Linked DNA regions of Homo sapiens: region 2 is linked to region 1. The links are contacts of gene promoters, found by promoter capture Hi-C in blood cells and fetal thymus (Javierre and others, 2016). All regions are on one chromosome and are shown on one strand. Each heading gives the region's core, a stretch centred on a gene start or on the middle of the fragment in contact. The rest is flanking DNA. Distances are from core to core; before and after follow the strand shown.

Evidence for each region. Contacts are between HindIII fragments. The CHiCAGO score rates a contact against its expected background, and 5 or more counts as called.
Region 2: a fragment that was not itself captured here is called in contact with the fragment with the promoter of DPY19L1 in region 1 in 1 of 17 cell types (total B cells); the score reaches 5.9 in total B cells.

What each region holds. Positions count from the first base shown.
Region 1 is chr7:35,034,669-35,040,496 of GRCh38, forward strand. It overlaps DPY19L1 (dpy-19 like C-mannosyltransferase 1), which reads right to left and starts at 2,817. Exons shown (of 22, transcript NM_001366673.1): 1 at 2,429-2,817. The coding sequence starts at 2,726. It overlaps LOC105375228 (a long non-coding RNA gene), which reads left to right and starts at 2,118. Exons shown (of 3, transcript XR_001745162.3): 1 at 2,118-2,253. RefSeq lists silencers at 2,507-2,676, 2,707-3,376 and an enhancer at 3,427-3,656. The HindIII fragment of the contact is 4,166 bases long and covers 1,224-5,389 here.
Region 2 is chr7:32,886,232-32,892,059 of GRCh38, forward strand. It overlaps KBTBD2 (kelch repeat and BTB domain containing 2), which reads right to left and starts at 5,529. Exons shown (of 4, transcript NM_015483.3): 1 at 5,305-5,529. RefSeq lists enhancers at 2,529-3,054, 5,610-5,828 and a silencer at 4,889-5,828. The HindIII fragment of the contact is 2,297 bases long and covers 1,756-4,052 here.

The sequences.
Region 1 (5,828 bases), core at 1,567-4,066:
AAGCCCCAGACAGTTTCTAACTCTTGAAAATGTGTGTTTCTATCACGGAGCTTTAAGTTACAAAATTACTTTCTAAATAGAAATGAATCCATTTCTGTCTAGCTTAATATTTAGTTGTTATAATTGTTCTTTTTTTGATCAGTTACAAATGAACTCTTGATGAACAAAAGAATATGCAATGCAATGTGGAAAACCAAACAGCTATTTTAAAGTCCCACATTGAAATACTGTATAATGTCAGCTCAACTCTCACTCATTCTGGGAGGGGGGAAGAAAACAGGAAATAAGGCAGCTTTCAAAAATGTCTAAACTCTGCTCCTCTCTGCAGGATCTGAGTGGTTTTTTGACGCTGTGGCAGGGCATAATCGTGGGGAAGAAATAGGTCTGACATCAGTTTATGACGGTACAGAGCCAGAGAAAGAAGCAACCCAGGTCCAATCATTCAGCAGAATCATCTCTCAAGGTGCCCTGGGGCCTCATGCAGAGGGTTAACAAGGACAGAAAGTCTCTAGACCTGGGTCTGTTCATCCAACTTCCATATATCTGATGGCCATGGTCCAGGGTACACCCAAAAATACAATCTACCACATTCACTGTACCTCCTTTCAATGCTCAAAGGGGCAAGTCAAGCAACGTGCTATACTGTTACATTAATACAAAACTGTATTTAGGTATGGGAATTACTAAATCCAAAGGTAAGTCATCCAAATATAAGTCATGCATCCATCCAAAGAAGATTCAAAGGAAACGCAATCAAAAAAGAAAATATGCAGAAAATAGCAATAAATATCATTATTCTAAGATTTGTTATTGTAACATCCCTGAAGAAGCAATGCCATTCTATATTTTACTACAAAGTGGTTAATGTTTAGTCATTCAATAAAAATGCAACTCCATTCTGTCATCAGATCTCAAATCAGCATCACACACTTTCTTTTATTACAACAACTACAATGTGTCAAGTGCTCTAAACACAAAGTATCTTCCCATGTATCACCCACACCTTTTAGTTATGATCCTTAACAGATCCTGTGGATCCCTGTGGAGTAAATTCGCCATGTGATAACCCCCCACTAGCAGAGAACGAAAGACTCACAAAGGAACCTGAAACTTAAACCAAACTGAACCGCTGTGTACTAGATCTGAAGGCTCTGCCTCATCCACTGTATCGTGCTGCCTCCCCAAGGTGAGCTTTTCTAACCTGCATACTAGCCAGCTTTTCAAGCTTGCTACTGAGATAAAAAAAAAGGGGGCGGGGGGAAATGTGCTGGAAACAGACAAACAAACAAACAAAGAAAAACAAACTTGGTTTTTCTAGGCTTGAATCGGCAATGGGGGGAAAAAAAGTACCCTAGGAACAACCTTCTTGAGCCCATTAAAACATACAGAGATGACTGGCTTTTTATGACTGAGTGGCTTTTATTTGTGGCTGTGATCTCAGGGGAAGCCAATTTGCTGTGTCCTATTCCTTGACTTATACTGGACCCCAACTCCTGGCTAAGGGAACTTTGAGTCACCAAGGGAATCTGAAAATATACTAAGGGATAAATCAACAGTAATTAAATAGTTCAGTAGCGAAAAGCCCACTGAGGCATATAGAAAAAAGCAATGTAACAGCATTTCACTAGTTGACTTAGAAAAATTAGGCCTGTTATCCAAACTGCTACAACTTGCCTTATCAAAATTCAACCAGGAAACAGAGGAAACCTGAAGTCAGTCCGAAACATACGAATGCGTCAACTTTGTTTTTTTTTTTCAGCACATCATTACACATCATCCATTTGGTAAATGGCAGAGGGAGGGGAGGAGAGCCCTCCTCACCAAAGGTTCCAAGGGCAGCAGGGAGGATTAAGGCTCGGGCGCCCCAAACACAACACAACCTAGAAAGTGACGTGTCGAGGGGAATCACAAATAAAGTGCCACCAGCGGCGTTTGCGGCCAGGAAGAAAAAAGTACGCTAAAATTTAATTATAAGTTTAAGCAACTCTCTACGACATGGAACGTGCGTTTGCTTTGAGCTCCACGGAATCGTTTCCAAGCCAAAGCAAACCATCCTGGCGGTCAGAGGCCGAGATAACGGGAAGGCGGCCAGTCGTACCAATCAGCAGCGCTCAAGTCTCGTTAGCGCAGACCTGCTGCCCGCGGCCAGGCCGGGCAGCTGTTGATCCCCGGGCCATTCTTTTAAAGCCCAGGCAGAGCGCGGGTGGGAAGCGTGCGAGGAGAGCTGAGCCAGGGAGTTGCGGGGAGGAGAAGGTAAGAATGTCCCAGAGAAAAAGTCGGAGAGGGCTGCAAACTGGCTGGTCCGGCTGGCGGGGCTCGGCGCGGCGGAAGCGGGAGGAGAGGGGAAGGAAGGGGAGGGGAGGGGAGGGGAGGGGGCCAGCGCCTCAAAGTTCCGCGTCCCGGCGGCGCCGGCGCTAGGGCTGCTCACCTAACAGGAGCGTGGTCCAGGTCCGGCCGCGCCCCGCGCGCCGCAGGCCCAGCGCCCAGCGCAGCCGGGCGGCCAGGCGCCCCCCAAGGCCGCCCCCGGCGGGCGGCGCGCCGGGCTCGGCGCGGGGCCCCTTCCTGCCCGCGGCGCCCTTGCGCCCCGGGGACAGGGGCGCGCGCTCGGGCCCCGGCTCCCCGGCGCCGACGTCCGACGCCCCCCTCAGCGGCGACTGTGAGGCGCGGGGTGGCTGGGGCGGCTTGGGAGCCGCCTCCCGGTGCTTGTTCCGCGCCTGCAGGACCATCTTGGCATAGTCGCGCCCGCTCGCTGCGCGCGCCCGGACGGCGGCCAGAGAACGGCGGGCTGGCTGGGCGGCTGGGCGCAGCTCACTCTCCAGCGGGCGGGCGGGCGGAGGGTGGAGGGCGGGCTCGTCCCTCCCCGCGGGCCGGGAGGCGGGGAGATCGTGGAGGCCGGGCGGCTGCTGCCTGGCTGGCAGTACCGCCGGGAGGCGGCGCCGGACTTGCTAGCCCGCCGCCGTTGCCGCCGCTCCGGTTGTCACGGCGACCGCGGAACGCCGGGGGGCGGGGGCGGGGACACCCTGCGAGCGGCCGCGGCCCCGCCCCCGCCGCCCCTCTGCGCCGGACGCGCGCTCCAGGCCGGCCAGCGCGCACGCGCGGACTTCCGGCGCAGGCGGGGCCCGACCCCTCTGGCGCCCGGCTACCCACACCTCTTCGGCGCCCGCGCGGGGCTCGGCCGGTGCGAGGACGCGGGGGCGGACGGCCTTCCGGAGGCGGCCGCCCTTCCATTGTGGGAGTGATGGGGCCGAAGGAAGAGCCCTCTCGGGATCGGGGCGCTGATTCAAGTTTCGGAGCCTGTTAAGGCTGCGCTTGGAGCCCGCGCAGGCGAGACGCGGCGGGGCAGGGAGAAGGCGCCCGGAGCGGCCACTTAGGGGCGCTGTGCGTGCGCCCTGGGCGCCTGGTCGGCCCCACCGATGTGAAGCGCGCGGGTGGCAATCAAGTCACCGTCTCCGTTTACTCCCCGCAGTGTGGTCGCGCAACTTGGAGCGCAGCCCCTCACTCACCGACAAGAAGAACGGGTGCGACCCGATTTAAGATAGTAACAGAGTATTAAAATAGCAGCCTGGAATCTCATGGGGAGCTGATAAGGGACGAGGCACAAGTGTAAACTGAAGACCAGGGTAGGAGCCAGGCTGAAGGTGATAGGATGGATTGGCTGGAGCAGGAAAGATCATCAATAAGTACATTCAGTTTGTTACACTTGCTGTAACCTTGTTGCTTAATAGGAAGCAGGAAAACTTGGCGTTGATAAGATAGGAGATTTTAGTCGAAAATATGTTTTCTTTTACATAGCAGAATGCACGAGTAAATTAAACCCGGGAAAATTTAGAAACCCAGGTAGATCCCAATTCTCCCTCCACCCCTGCATTCTTTGCACACAGTCTTACAACAGCATGGATTACAACTGGGAGGTTCCTTTCCTGGCCGTGCCCAGTGGCTTGTTCCAAAAAGTTGTCTTTAAGTCCCAATGTTGTAAATCAAGGCCCATCGTTCTGCTTATCTCTATTGTAATTCCAGGGACTTCACGTGGCTTTCTCGCTCTTTGTTTCTTTGCCCAGTGATTTCTTTACTAATACCAGCATTCGTTCATTGTTAGCCTTTTTAAGAGACAGTGGATTATTTTGTAAAGGGAGGGTGTTTGCCATGCTAATTAATACTCCCTCATACCCTGTCTAGTTTATGAATTTGGATTTTCCAATGTCTTTATTGGAGCAAAGAACAACTATTTTTATACACTGGTTTAAAAAATAATGGTTGAAAGTAGGATGCAGAAGGCTTGGATTCTGAAACATTGTGTCAGCTGAACTCAATGCTACCTCTGGGATTAATGTTGAATGTATTCAGTTAAAAGAAAGCTAATTCAATGCCTATTAAAGATAATACGAATAACTGGCCGGGCACCGTGGCTCACGCCTGTAATCCCAACACTCTGGGAGGCCGAGGCGGGCAGATCACGAGGCCAAGAGTTCAAGACCAGCCTGGCCAAGATGGTGAACCTCTGTTTCTAATAAAAATACAAAAATTAGCCAGGCGTGGTAGCAGGCGCCTGTAGTCCCAGCTACTTGGGAGGCTGAGGCAGAAGAATCGCCTGAACCCGGGAGGCGGAGGTTGCAGTGAGCTGAGATACGCCACTGCACTCCAGCCTGGGCGACAGAGCGAGACTCCATCTCAAAAAAATAAATAAATAAAAATAATACAAATGATGGATTTTTTTTAATGATTAGAAAGACGCATGGAAAAAGAGGTTCAACATTTGAATTATTAGATTGCTGTGTGTCTACTTTATGTGATAGGCCCTGAATTCAGGAACTGCCTCCCTTAAGCTGGTACCGTTTGTACCAGGAAAACACTTGTTGAATGAGTGAGTGAATGAATGCAGTTCCACAAGTGCTTGTCAGTTCCCCTTCTCGGCTTGGCAACCATGCGGAGAGGGGCAGTGTGAGGTATTAGTTTTTTGGTTTTTTTGTTTTGTTTGTTTTTTTCTTAAACACGGTCAATTTAGATCCAGTTTGCAGCCACTACATTGACCCATACCAGCCTTGACCAAGGTATTATACCTCTTTGAGTCTGGATTTCTTCATTCTTAAAATGGAGGCAACAAAAACATCTAGTTCACAGGTTTGTAAAAAATAAGACAATGTGTGTAAAGCATCTAACAATTACATATATCCAAGTAGTTGCTCAGTGAATGTTCAAATTGTCTGGATGTTGGTAGTTGCTCAATAAGTGTTCAAAGTAGTGGATGACGTTTAAGGAGAGTGGCAAACTTCTGTCCTCCCAGAACCTGAAGTTGACATTCCAAGTTGGGGTATAGCAAGGGGAGAATGCCACTCTGAGCGGGAGAGCAAGAACAGCCACGTGATCTTTAAGCCAGGCCTGCTGGGCTTCAAGCTTCTCAGCTCTCTGGGCAGTTGATGTGCCTGAATGGTTTCCTGCTTTCCACAGATGCTTTACAAATGTTGCCCATCTCATGGGTCCTTAGGCCTGGATAAAATAGTAGGCAACTCCTCGTGCCCCCTCCCAAAAGGGAGGCATTTCACACAGGAAGGGTGGAGGAATGGAAACCAGAACAGTCATGGAAGATTATGTGCCAGATTTCATTTTATCCTTAGTACAACGAGATCCACAAGAGCAGAGAATGGGAATGCAGTTAATTTCTATATGTATCTGTAGACCAGTGCCTGCCACACATAGCGGTGGATGCTAAAAAACAAAAAATCTCTGGCAAACTGAAAGCTGCATATTAAAAAAACATTTTGTACATGGATGATCTATGAACGGATCTAAGATTATAATGAAATTAAGCATTAAAATTACCAGCTTTAATG
Region 2 (5,828 bases), core at 1,654-4,153, 2.1 Mb before region 1:
ATTATTACAGGACAAAGTCCTATTTATTTTTAAATCCGAAGACTACCTACAGAAGTCAAAAATTTATAAACTGATTGAAAACAAATGCTTCTAATACATTTTCTCTAGGATGCCCAAGTCTCCGAGGTTCTGAGTGAATTCCAACACATAAAAGTTTTGAAACATTGTTACTAAATGATTGTCAGGATTAAATCAGTTAGCAATCGACAGTAACATATACAATTCTACTTAAAAATCTGAAACTCTTCCCACAAAATATTATTTCTAGAGATGACTTAAAGTATTGGGAGGATATGCACAGGTTATCGAAAATACTACGGCATTTTATCAGAGACCTGAGTGTCCTTGGATTTTCATATCCCAAGGGGACCTAGGAACTAATCTCCCACTGAAACCAAGAGACAACTGTGTTTCTATGCAACAAATTTAAGTTGGTTGTCTGAATTCCTCACTTAACTTTCCTATAAAATAACAGTATTAAAAAGGTGTTTAACTTCTCACTATAAGCAGCAAAACATGCCTGAAAGTCTATCAGCAAAGAAAATTTACAAAGTAAATACTACTTTAATACTCATAAAGAGATAAGTGACCATGAAATTGTTTTACAGATTCTGATTATTAACATTAAAGGATAAGGAACCAAGATTAAAAGTATGAAATGTTGAAATTTTTAAAAAATCCCAAATACTTTTAAAGATGTCAGAGGTTGATGGCAGTGTTTTGGCTTTTTGGGGGGAGGCAATGAGGGGGGATAGATGTCTAATTTCACTTTGAAATCAAGTTTTCATTCCTAGAGGTGTGTACTTTGTAGCATCCTCCCACTGAGTAGCCTGGAAACACAAATAGAAGCAAAGCAAGCTTTTCCAATGTTAACCAGGCAGAATATAGAGACTGAGGAACGAATAAAGGATTAAAGAACTATTGAATGTGATAAAGAAACCAATCAGCAATTAACTGAGCTGTGGATGAAAAAGGAAGAAAGGATAAAAAGATGGGAAGGAGGCTGCTAGCAAGGCCTGCTACAATAAGCACAGTAGTAGGTACAAAGTTTCCATTGGACAGGAGGAATAAGTGTTACTGATCTGTTACACAGCATGTTGATGATCGCAGTTAACAATAATATACTGTGTATTTCAAAACTGCTAAAGATTCTAAATGTTCTCACCACAAAAAAAATAAGTACATGAGGTGACAGATGTAAATAGCCTGATTTAATCATTCCTCAATGTGTACATAGATTGAAACATCACATTGTAGCCCACAAATACATACAATTATTTGCCAACTAAAAATAAAATAAATTATATAGTAGGAATGAAGGAATGATAGGTCTCCCTCCAGGAGGGGCAGTGCGGCTATAAATCATTCACCTGTAGGAAGCACATTCAAATTGTACATTACTAACTTAGGGAGTGCTGCATCTCCCAATGCTACAAATGTCAATAGAGAAGATTAAAAATTTTTGTTGGAAAAGATCCAAGGCGTTCTCCATGGAGGTCAACCGTTGAAAAATAATTGAGTACAAACCCAAACTACTTGGGTTAAAGCCCCAGTTCTGCAACTTAATAGCTGTGTGGCCCTTTTTAAGTTATTTATTCTCTATGCCTCAGTTTGCTCATCTATAAAATGTAGTTAAAAGTACAACTCTCTTCTCAATGAATTGTTCTAGGATTACATTTCATACTTGGTTCAGTACCTGACACACAGCACTACACAGATATTCGAAATTATTTTTATTAACCCACCCACTGGTGAAGCTTTTGCAGCACTTTCCCAACTCCTGGATTCCACACCTTCACCAGGTCCGAAGATTCCAATTTCAAGGTCTCAGCACTCCAAATACAGTTCTCTTTTTTCATTCTGTCTAAATGGTATTTTACATAAGAGAAATCCAATGTTTTCAGAGAATATTGGGACTTTTTTGCAAACATTTGACACTTGAAATCTGAATTCAGTGTTCTAAAATATTAAGATAATTTTTCCTTTTTTTTTCCTTTTCTCACATATTTTGATGGTACAAATAATGAAACAAACTAGTGCTTAAAAGACGACCAATCTTGAGGAGGCTGATGTCAGTGTAAAAAACTAAATGAGAGTCCAGAAAGGCACCAGTCATAAAACAAGCCTTTCTTTATTTCAATGAGATAGTTTTCTCCTTAGGAAGGACAAGAGATGGGTGCTAGAAACAGTTTGCTTTCAAGTTATCAAAACAACCACGACAGTTGAGAATGTCTGGAAAAGACCATTTGTTTTTTAGATTGTCAACTGCTACACAAACAGAATTTTCTGGAGTTGTGACAGGCATCAATTAAAAAACAAACCAAAAAAAAACAAAAAAACCAAAAAAACAAACACCTGGCCTTTTGAAGAATCTATCAAGTTTTAAAAATTTCAGCATACTTGCAGTGAGCCGAGATCGCATCACTGCACTCCAGCCTGGGCGACACAGCGAGACTCCGTCCCAAAAAAAAAAAAAAAAAAATTTCAGCATAGCTTCCTCTGCTCTAGTCACATTCAGAGCTTAGGTCTGTTCTCTCTTTCCAACCATACTGATAGATGACATGGCTCCATCAGGTTAATTACGCTCAGCACCCTAAGTAAATTCAGGTCACAAGTACAAGCTGTACTATATTATGATTAACAAGTTATCTCAGTTTTAAAAAATTAAACAAGAACATAAAGGCAATGCCACCTGCGATACAATAATCATATGAGTATACTATGTCCTTTTATTTTGGGTATCACTTTTCCTTTTTCCTCTCACCTCTGCGCAGTGACTTAAGAAAGCTGGGGAAAAGTGGCCAGGCGCAATGGCTCACACCAGTAAATCCCAGCACTTTGGGAGGCCGAGGCGGGCAGATCACCAGGTCAGGAGATCGAGACCATCCTGGCTAACACGGTGAAACCCCATCTCTACTAAAAATACAAAAATTAGCCCAGCGTGGGCTACTCAGGAAGCTGAGGCAGGAGAATGGCGTGAACCCGGGAGGCGGAGCTTGCAGTGAGCCAAGATCGCGCCACCGCACTCCAGCCTGGGCGACACAGCGAGACTCCGTCTCTTAAAAAAAAAAAAAAAATTACTTGAGATCGGCCGTCTGCGGTAGCTCACGCCTGTAATCCCAGCACTTTGGAAGGCCGAGGTGAGGGGATCACGAGGTCAGGAGCTCGAGACCAGCCTGACCAACATGGTGAACCCTCATCTCTACTAAAAATACAAAAATTAGCCAGGCCTGGTGGGGCGCGCCTGTAATCCCAGCTACTCAGGAGGCTGAAGCAGGAGAATCACTTGAACCCTGAAGGCGGAGGTTGCAGTGAGCCGAGATCGTGACACTGCACACCAGCCTGAGTGACAAGAGACTCTGTCTCAAAAAAAAATTACTTGAGATCAACCTGTCATTTCTAATACTGAGTTATTTAAGTATCAGTTGGTCTATTCAAACTCTACAAAACTGAAAAGATTAAGCTAACAAAGGACTTTGAAATTTTCACTCATATTTTATGACACCAGGATCAATCCTTTTTCCTGGCCTTACTTGTCTTAGGAATGTGGGCAAAGAGAAGAGGGGAAGGGGGACTCTTTTCTAAATGTGTAACATTTTTGGAAAAACCAATGTTATCATTTGGCTTTTAAGACTGCATTCAAGTTTCTAGGAATTCACCTTGCACATTCAATGTTCAATGTTTAGGAATGAAAAGCTCAACATTTCTACCAACCAGAAGAAAATCTATGGAGGAGCATGGACATATGTACTGATACCTCTATTCCTTCCCATCTCCTTACATGCCCTGTGAATAACATAAGTTAACATTTTATAATGCTTCTTATGAGAGCAAAAAGGGGAGTAGAGTTACAGCACTCATAAAGTCTTCCTACAAAACTGTGCAAAGAAAACACCACTATGTGGAAACGTGTGGACTACAGAGCATGCTCAACAGAAAGGCCACAGCACTCCCGAGTTACTGACAGAAAACAACCTCTTGAGGATTCCAGGCCCCAACCTAAAAGGGCTTCAATAAGCACTAAGCCAACAGAAGATCAAAGTGAAGAAGTAAGCTTAACATTAGTTATCAGCCAGATGGAAAGAATAGCAAAATTCCACATCATCGAGATTAGAAAACAACCGACTGGCTTTTCAATTTACTTTAGATCAGAAAAAAAAGTCGGGGAAAAAAGTCCTTATCAAAGGTTAACCAAACTAAGTCATTCACAATTACAAGAGATCTAAGACCCATACTACTCAAATTCGGCAAAAATGTACAACTCAGAGGGAAGAGGGGGAAGATCCCTGTTAATTAGTTGCCTCGATAAAAGAAAATATCATTTTGGTCAGTGCACAGCGTTGATAGGGTTTCGTTTCTCAATGCCTAAATGCTGTGAGCCCGACGTACAGATTCAAGTATAAACAACACGTGACCAGTCCTGTTGCCTACGTCTTCATAAGGCTAATTGACACAGAAGATAGTTCACACACACACCCTTTTAAAGTTCATTTTGTATTTTGAATTCTTTTCCTATTTTCACTGGAAGGGGTCACCGTGGTAGCCCGTGGGATGGACGCTCCTCTACCTTTTGAGGCAGGTAGAGTTCTTAGATAGCTAAGCCCAAGGGAAAAAAAGATGTTAACTCAAAATAACCGCCCCACACCAAACTAAGCGATTTTTCTATTCCCCGGTTGTTCAATCCGTAGGGAGAAGGAGGTGGTCGAATTCAAGGAAGTTAAAGATTTCACAAAGTAAACACGTACACAATTTTCCGTTTCAAAGGGCAGTTTCTGCTTTCTTTTTTAAGTCGATATAGACCATAACAGGAGCTCTGTTCGTCTAGACCTCTCTTGGTTAGTTCAGATGTACGCGGGGGGAATACAGAAGGAAGGGGGTGTCCTCCTTCGGCCCACCATGTCGCGAACACGTCGCGAGTCTTTAAGGGAAACAGCTTTACTTCGGTAAGGGCGGGCGCGAGCCGAGGCCAAGGCGCCGCCCGGGAGCCCCGCGGGCGCCGAGGCGCCCGGTGCCGGGGCCGGAAACGCCCAGCTAGCGGCGTACCGGGCCGCCCCTTCCCCGCGGACCTGCCCGGAGCTCCGCCGCCCTGGGGCCGCCGCGGGGTGCGGAGGGCGGCGCCGGCCGCCCGCGCCCCTCCCCCGCCCGCGGCGGAAGCGTCTCGGGTTTGAAAGATGCCGCGGCCGCCGCCTCCCACCCGCCGAGCCACAAAGGGCCGAGCCCCCTCCCGCCACAGCCCTCCTCCCCGGCCCCTCCACAGGTCGCCGCGGGCTCCCAGCCTGCCCGGCGCTACTGTCGCCTGCTCACCCGCGTCCCTCGGTCCGGAGGTGTGGGATCCGCTCCAGCCGGTGGCCCCGTCCACACTGGGCCCCTCCGGCGCGGCGGCGGGGGCGTGGCCCTCCCGCCGCGGCCTCGCCTGGGGTCTCGCCTCCGCCTCCGGCCGAGGAAGGCTGGCGCCGCCGCCTCTTCCTTCCGGTTTCCCCTCGCACCCTCCCTCGCTTGGTCCGTCCAGCGCGGAAAGCAGCGTCCTCTGCGGGCGCCGCCGCACGCTCCTCAGGGCCCGACCACCGCCAGACTCCTCCCCCGGGAGCCGCGCCGCCCGCCCGCCCGCGCCGCCTTGTCAGTCCGGGGCCGCGAGACGCCGGGCCCGCCGCCCCCGCCGCCCCCGCCCCCGCCCCCGCCGCGCGCTCTCGCCCCCGCCCGCGGCCCGGGAACGCGCGCGCAATGGACCGCTGGCCAGCCTGCCGCGCCCGCCCTCGCCACGCCGCCCTCCCGCCTCGCGCGCGCGCGCGCCTGTCGGCACCAGCGGCAGTTTTGCAGTTTCCCGGGTC